Linked DNA regions of Homo sapiens: region 2 is linked to region 1. The links are contacts of gene promoters, found by promoter capture Hi-C in blood cells and fetal thymus (Javierre and others, 2016). All regions are on one chromosome and are shown on one strand. The core of a region is centred on a gene start or on the middle of the fragment in contact, and the rest is flanking DNA. Distances in the headings are between cores, read along the strand shown. Region 1 holds the start of ABHD10 (abhydrolase domain containing 10, depalmitoylase). Region 2 has its middle 84 kb from the start of PLCXD2-AS1.

Region 1 (4,191 bases), core at 542-3,041:
GAGGTTGCAGTGAGCTGAGATCGCCCCATTGCACTCCAGGCTGGGTGACAAGAGCGAGACTCAGTCTAAAACATACACACACACACACACAAAAACCCAAAAAAGAAATATAAGGGATGATGAAATGACATGCATCAGGCATCACCTTAGTGATTTAGTCCCTTAGAGTCTACAACAGGTCTAATGGAGAACGGGCAACATAGCTCAGCATCTTTTGGAGTATGTCCTGAAATCAAGTTGCTGTCCTTAACTATATGTCCTTAGTAGAGAGAGGCATCCCACCTCTCAAGAAAGAGATCTATTCAGTCTTTATTTATCTAACTGTTCCAGACTGTTCCAACAGTCCAGGTTCTCACGACTCCAAAGACATGCTGGATTCACTATATCCAAACTTTGCCTTTAATTCTGGTACCAATTACTGCCCCCCAAATTTATAACCAGGATAATAAAAGTTACTTTACTATCTTATATATACTCAAAGTATTACACAAGCCACCATAACTTTTAAATAGGAAACTACTACGTAAAACTCCATGGTTGATGCTTGAGGCCCCCAGGAATTAGTTTGAAAGGTATTTAGAGCTGGAGTCCGGAAACCCTTGTACTACAATTTATTCAACTATTTTTCTATTGTTAGCCATTCCCATTTTTTTCCTTCTCTTTGCCTCTAAAAACGGTGTAGTAGATAATATGCAGTCTTAAGAACTAGTGTTGTTTTTCTATAGGATAATCACAAATTGGTGCCACTGCGTTAAAAGGCACTGGAATGGATGCATATTTTAAAATTGTAATAGATGTGGCCATATTACTTCACAACAAATTTTAGTAATTCACCTTCCTAGCAATCATACATAAGTGCTAGTGTCTAGCATCCTTGCCAATTATTTTTCTTTTTTGCCAACTGAATGGGGGGAAAAAGGCATTATTTTTTTAATTCCAGTTTTTCATTTAGTGAGTTTGAGCATCATGTTTCCTTATATGGGCTGCCTATTTATAGCTGTTGGCCAATTTTATTTGAATTATATTTCTTATTTATAGGAGCAGGCTGAGTAGAAGTATTAATGTATCTATGCTACAAAATCCATTTTTCTAAGCTCTTAACTTGAGGTGTCTTTTGCCATTCAAAAAGTTTAAATTCGTATACAAATATATTTTTTATTTATGATGTTGGGGTTTTGAAATCTTGGTTAAGAAAGTCCCTTCTGTCCCCGGATTATATAATATTCTCCTAAAATTTATTTAATCCTCTCAGTTGTATTCTTCCGTTGAAATCTTTTTTTACTGAAATTTATTTTCGCATATAGCACGAGGAGGGGGCCAAGATAATTCAGTATTTCGTTAATCAGGCATATAGATCTAGAGCGGGGAATGTCCGATACCATTCCAGGTTATACAGGCGAGATTAATGTCAGATCTTGGGAGCATTTCCAGTACAGGTTAAAACTGTCACGCGGTCGGCGGGATTGCAGGTGATGCAGCAAGCCTGGTGTCCTCGACAGGAGACGTTTCCCATCTAGGACCGTTGGATAGGGTTCCTTTCTGAGCTTCCAGCTCTGTAGTATCTATCAGCCCGCTGATAGGGCAGCCTCCCGACGCCACTCAAAACATCTTAAAGGCCCCAAGCCAAACCCCGCTACTAGTAGAACCAACAGTCTAAACGAAAGAGCCACGACGCTCTGCGCATGTGCGCTCTTCGCAAGCTGAAAATCTTGCGGGGAGCTCTTTAGCAAGTTCCGCCTTCCAGCCTGAAGCGCATGCGCAGCCTCGGTTCCGTTGCGTAGCGTGTCCCTCAGTGGGACACTGCAGGGTGCGGGGACAACTACGAAGATGGCGGTTGCGCGCTTGGCAGCTGTGGCGGCCTGGGTACCTTGTCGGAGCTGGGGCTGGGCAGCCGTCCCCTTCGGTCCCCACCGTGGCCTCAGCGTGCTGCTTGCACGGATACCTCAGCGGGCGCCACGGTGGCTCCCAGGTCAGTGTCCGAAAGGCGGGAGTAGGATGCGTTCTTTCGAACGCCTCGGGTTCCGTCAGTTACCGTGCCTGTGCAGTGCGTCTTTGGCGCCCGGTTCAAAAATGCTCCTCCCCCTTTCTCAACACCCCAGTTCTAGGCGCTTTGTAGACTTCTGGTGAAGGCTGTGAGGAGAGCTCTGCCGCGGCCCTGCGGCATTCTGGGCACCCCGGGCCCTCGCTGGCGTTTTACACTGTGCAGTTTAAAGAGCTCCTGCTCCTTACCTGCCTCCCCTGCATTAAAGGCCAACACTAGAAAAAATTAAAATGTGCATTTAATGCATTATTATTAGTTACTTCTAGGAATTTGTAGATTGTGACTCCTAAAATGCTTAGACTGACTCTCCTTTGAGTTTAGGGAACCTAACAATGCGAGGCATGTTCTTTGTAAAAGTGTAGACGCCCTCATAAGCCTAATTTCTAGTTCTGCTTTCTTGCTGCACCCACTCAGTGAAAGAACCATAATCATTATTGCACAAAGGAAACTAGAATTTGGGCTAAAAATCAGAGAACCTCTTATATGTATATATAGTCTTTGAATTAGATCCTTTTATTTTTTTGGCTTTGTGTGTGGTTCACACCATTGCCACGTAGCTGTCAGATGATGCATGGTGCTTGGAGTGGTAATTAATGTCACGGCAGAGATCTTTTGTATGGAGATTTTTGTATCCAGTTTTTAAACTTTTATAATCAGATTAACTTGCATTTAATTGTGCGCAACCAAAAGGCATGTTACACATGCAAATACTCCTAGTAAAATGTAGTATGTCAATTCATTAACCAGAGTATAATATTATTTCATCTAGTTAGCACTTATTCATTGAGCACTTATGCACCAGGCTTTGAATTAATCCTTATGTTCAAAGATGATTTATGAATATAATTATATGAATCTGTCTACTTAGAACTTACATTAAATAAATTATAATCATCTCGGGGAAATTATGTTTTAAGAGGTGATTTCTGGAAGAGGATAGTGAGAATTTTTTTTAGTGCTCAGCTGAGTAGATGGGAAATGAACATGAGTGGATCAGCATAACTGGTCCTTACCAAAAGTTTTAAATTTGGCATATTTCTCTATACTTTGAAACAAGCTTTTATGTAAAAAGGATAACTTTAAGGCCTTCAGTTACATCTTTAAAAAATCAACTTCTTAATTACAAAATGGGGAAAACTTTAGCAGCACACATGGATTCTCTTCTCAAGACTGAGAAGTTTTCAAAGTGGAGGACGGCTTCATTTAATATAAAAAAAGAAAATGTATTAGTCCAAAGACTCTAAGGAAGTACACAAAACTAGTGTCTTTGGAAAGAAGAGGTGGGATTATAAATGACTCTTTTAAAAAAATATCTACTTGTTTCTTAAGAGCAAGTATAGATTTTATAATGGGGGAAAATTTGAAAAAGATGAAGTAGGATAATCTTATGAAGTTCACCAATTGTACTGTTGTACTTAAATTACACTAAAATCTCTGTGTACCATTTACAGAAAGCCAAACCAACAAAACGCAAAGTGATTGCATAGGTCTATAAGAAATCTCTTTCCAAAAACGATACTATCATATGTTGTTTTTAAAGAAACTGCTCATTGAACCCACCTCAGCTGACAATAAAATTATGAGTTGTTACCATGGCTCATGATTTCTTGGTTGAGGTAGGCGGATGGGTGGGCGGGTGGATGGGAGTCAGTAATAAAAAGGGCACAGCACGTCCTCCTTTGAAACAATTTTGCAAGGGCAGACCAAACCTGTTTCTTCCCTGACCCCCAAGAAAGTAGGGGATGAAAGGCCAGGCATGGTGGCTCACACCTGTAATTTCAGCAATGGGAGGCCAAGGTGGGAGGGTCACTTGAGCCTGGGAGTTTGAGACCAGTCTGGGCAACATAGTGAGACCCTGTCTCCACAAAAAATACAAAAATTAACCAGGTGTGGTGGTACATGCGTGTAGTGCAGCTACTGGGGAGGCTGAGGTGGGACGATGGCTTGAGCCTGAGGAGTCGAGGAAGTCCAGGCTGCCGTAAGCTAGGATTGCACCACTGCACTCTAGCCTGAGTGACAAGGTGAGACCCTGTCTCAAAAAAAAAAAAAAAAAAAAAAGAAAGAAAATAAGGGATGTGAAACTTGTCAAACAAAAAATAAATTTAAAAACAAAGCCAAAAATCTCACAAGAGAGGGCTGAAACTATTGCG
Region 2 (4,191 bases), core at 522-3,021, 220 kb before region 1:
CAACCACGATAAACTCATGAAGATGGTTTTATAAGCTACTAGATGCGGCACAGACAGAGACAACAAGCTATGTTTTGCTAATGGGTCCTATCAATATGGGGCCCAGGCCATCTTTAGCCTATAAGCTTCATCCCAGAAACTAGGAGTCAGTCAGTAGAGTTTACTGTGATATTTTAAGGAAGAAAGGAGAAAAATGACTGCTCTTCAGAGCTGATTAGAGTAAAAATGTAATTATATATGTGCATAAATATCCTAGTGATATATCTTTTTTTTTTTTCAATGATTGTCTTAGTCCACTCAGGCTGTTGTAACAAAATACCATAAACTAGGTAGCTTATGAACAACAGAAACTTATTTCTCACCATTCTGGAGGCTGGAAAGGCCACAATTAAGACACCAGCAGATTTGGTATCAAGTGGGGATCCACTTTCTGGTTCGTAGATGGTGCCTTCTCACTGTGTCCTCACATGGTGGAAGGACAAACTAGCTCTCTGGGGTTTCTTTTGTAAGGGTACCAATCCTATTCATGAGAGTTTCAGCCTTACCCAAAGGCTCCTTCTCCTAATGCTGTCACATTGGTGATTAGGTTTCAATTTATGAATTTTGAGGAGACACCAACATTTAGACCACAACATTGAGATTTTATATATATTTACATGTATATATACACACACACATATGTATGTATGTATATCCCGTGTGTGTGTATGCATGCACAGTGAGGAATATATGTTTAGCATGTAAAGTTACTCTTTGCACCAAATGGTTTCAAGACAGCAAAATAATATAACACCTACTAAAGGCCAGGTAATTGGACATTATCCAAATCAGTCATCATGCAACCCTATAAGGTGGAAATTTTTATCCCCAATTTATAAGTGAGCAAACAAATCTCAGATTAAGTAATTTGTCTAAGGGCACACAGCTTACAAGAGATGACGTCAGATTTTGGATTTGAGTTTCTCTCTTTCCAAATTTTTTATTCTTAATCAATAGGCTATAATTGGGTGACAATCAAGAGTTCGTTGGGAATATTGTTGGTTCATAATAGCAACAATATGCAGTTTGTAGGACAAGAGGCTTTAAGGGCAGAGATCTAAATGTATCTGTCAAACAGAGAAAGCCATGTGAAGTTTCTGTGTCTTCATGCCTCTGTATTGGATTCAGGCTGTAGCCACAATACTTATGCAAAAGCATTTCAGGGGAGACATTGCTAGGCAATCTTCACTTCCACTAGGTCAGAGTTTAATGCACATAATACTTCTTGCCTTCATGTGCATGTTGCTAACCCATATTCCTGACTGATATTCTTTCAGTATGTCCACAATGAATTAAAGTTAAGACCAGAGAGCAATATAAAGTGCTGAGCAAAACTCTTTTGAAATTCACAAACATTGTCCATCAGCAGAAACCATGTTTACATTTTTAAAATTCCTATTTTACCTTACGTGGACTGTAAGATGGAATCCAAAGATCCCTCAAACCAAAACTTAGTTTCAATGCATCTTTGTTGAGATAAAAAAAATTGTCCTACTCCAAAGATACTAAATACAGGTCTCATCAATAACCATAGCTTCCATTTTCTGTCAAAGTCAAATAAAATTTTCTACTATTTTTCAATTAGGAAAAGCAGCATTTCAGATAAAAAACTAGGCTTTTGTAACAAACTAGCAAAGTTGGAGTTCTTTTTATTGAAATTTATGTTTACATGGTTATTAAAAGGTTTGTGTTGGACTGCGGGACTCATCTTACTCTGGCTTCTGGGGAGTGAACTAGAAGGCAGAAAACGTGTTCTGTTTTCTTGCTTCTGCGATGTGTATACAGTTTTTTGTTTGTTTTTTTTTTCCTGAGAGCCACGTGGGACTGGTGAGGCTGAGAAGCAAAATTTGAATCAGAGCTTAGATTAAAAAACTGAAGCAATAATTTTCTCCATTTTCAGTTTTAGTTGTTTTATCTTTTGTGATAAATTGTAGGTGAGAAGTTTGGGAGAGGGGCCAGGATGCTACTTAGTTCATTCATAGCACTGCTTGGAACCTTTAGAACTAAGTCGGCCAGGTGTGGTGGCTCACGCCTGTAATCCCAGCACTATGGGAGGCCGAGGCGGGTGGATCACGAGGTCAGGTGATTGAGACCATCCTGGCCAACATGGTGAAACCCCGTCTCTACTAAAAATACAAAAATTATCTGCGCGTGGTGGTGCGTGCTTGTAGTCCCAGCTACTAGGGAGGCTGAGGAAGGAGAATCACCTGAACCCCGGAGGTGGAGGTTGCAGTGAGCTAAGGTGGCACCACTGCACCCCAGCCTAGCGACAGAGTGAGACTCCATCTCAAAAAAAAAAAAAAAGAAAAAAAAAACTAAACACATTTGAATACTAATCCCAGCTTTGTGATCCTCCTATTCCACCTAGAACTACAGTGTTATTCAATTTTTTTGCTTCTGTCATGAAGATAATTTGAAGCTAATCATCCACAATGGGAAATGAGCAAGTGGTTCCAAAAGCAGAAGTGGGTATGGGTACACATGGGAGTGTATAAAGCTCAAAGTCTCCTTATACACGGCATTGATTCAGAAAGGAACTGACACTGTTGATGAAATTTATCACACAAGATGGGACGTGAACAAATCCTTCATCCTAAAAAGGCAGAAACTCAGAAGAGAATGACTAGGGAGAATGAGTCACTAGCAGCTGTTAAGAATCATAGTTAGATCTCTATTCCTGATTTAACTCTCTGCTTTATCTACCCCAGAGGCCAGTCGTTCTCAAACTTCAGCTGCATTCAGATCACTTCAAGGGCTTGTTAAAACAGGATTGCTGATCTACACACCCAGAATTTCTGATTCAGTACATGTGGGTGGGGCAAGAGAATTTTTAGCTCTAACAAGTTCCCAGGTGATGCTGGTCGGGGATACCACACCATAAGACCCACTGCTTTAGGCAATACCGGTTTCAGAATTGAGCCACAGAGGCCATGACTGGTTTATTTACCTGGAAAACCAGCCCAACATTTTTTTTTAATAGCAGAAAAAGCATACAAATTTATTTAATGTGTATACATAAGAAGAATTACAGAGTAATTACCCCCAGCCTGACATTTCCTTAAAATAGGTGCTTGTATGTTCACCTAAAAGGGGCACTGCTAAAAGAGAGGATGAGGGGTCAGAGGAACACATTTTATCCAAAAAGGGATGCCCCCCCAATCCCATCCGCCACATTCAGCTGAGAACCAGACCAGCGTCTTAGCTATTAGTTCATTGCATGGGTTTTGGTGCCAGACTAGACTTAGATTTGAGATCCAAGTCTACTACCTAAGGTGATAAACTTAAGTCAGTCACTTACTTTTCTAAACTGCAGTACTGGAAGGATAACACAATTGATCTCAGAGGACTGTTGTGAAGTTTAAAGAAGATAATGTTTAGGAAGCTTTAACACAATAGCTCATGTATAGTAAGGCCTCAATAAATGCTAACTATATGTATTATTTAATTATATAACTAGCATTACCATATTATTATTATATAGCCAATATGTGTAATGTTTTGACACTGTCAATAAATTTTGAGGTGTTTATCCCATTTTCAGATATTGGAAACTAAGGCACAGAAGGGTTAAGTACCTTGCCCAAGGGCATCCTAGGGAGCGCTCTGAAGTTATGCCTTGTGATGCCACAATTATCATCATTCTAATCACAGGCCTCTAAGTGTGATCTGATCCAGACCTTCCACCCAGCCCTCCCAAGAACCTGGCCACACTCGTCAGGATTAAAGGAGGAGGTATTATTTCTTCAAGCCCTCCTGGAGTCTCTCTTGGCCTTTTTTGGCTCACATACTGCTGTACGTAGTTTGTGTCTGAAATGGAAAATTTCTGTAACACAATACCCAGCTCTGATCCCCACAGACTCTCAAATAATCTTTCTCTTTTTTTTCTTTTGGTTTGGGTTAAAATATGACTTCATGTGCAAAAAAGAAGCCTCATTTCCCAGCACTCTCAGCAGATTCATAAACATTGCAGACTCAAAGCCCTCTGGTTCCTAAGAGTTCCAAAGAATTAATTCTCCTTTTTTGAAAAAGGAGAGCAATGACTAAGAAGTGAGAAGAGAAATGGAAAGATTAAAACTAGCTGCCTGTTTGGTGCAGGGTATATAGCTCTGAGAGCCCACCCTCTTCTGCACCTGCAAGAATCCTTGCATGTCT

Evidence for each region. Contacts are between HindIII fragments. The CHiCAGO score rates a contact against its expected background, and 5 or more counts as called.
Region 2: a fragment that was not itself captured here is called in contact with the fragment with the promoter of ABHD10 in region 1 in 3 of 17 cell types (endothelial precursors, M1 macrophages and M0 macrophages); the score reaches 6.7 in endothelial precursors.

What each region holds. Positions count from the first base shown.
Region 1 is chr3:111,977,235-111,981,425 of GRCh38, forward strand. ABHD10 (abhydrolase domain containing 10, depalmitoylase) reads left to right here and starts at 1,792. Exons shown (of 5, transcript NM_018394.4): 1 at 1,792-1,969. The coding sequence starts at 1,828. RefSeq lists enhancers at 1,434-1,993, 1,852-1,901, 1,912-1,961, 1,982-2,031. The HindIII fragment of the contact is 3,690 bases long and covers 1-3,096 here.
Region 2 is chr3:111,758,856-111,763,046 of GRCh38, forward strand. It overlaps a transcript of PHLDB2 not described here. Among named protein-coding and RNA genes, the nearest start is that of PLCXD2-AS1, 84 kb to the left of the region's middle. The HindIII fragment of the contact is 3,296 bases long and covers 124-3,419 here.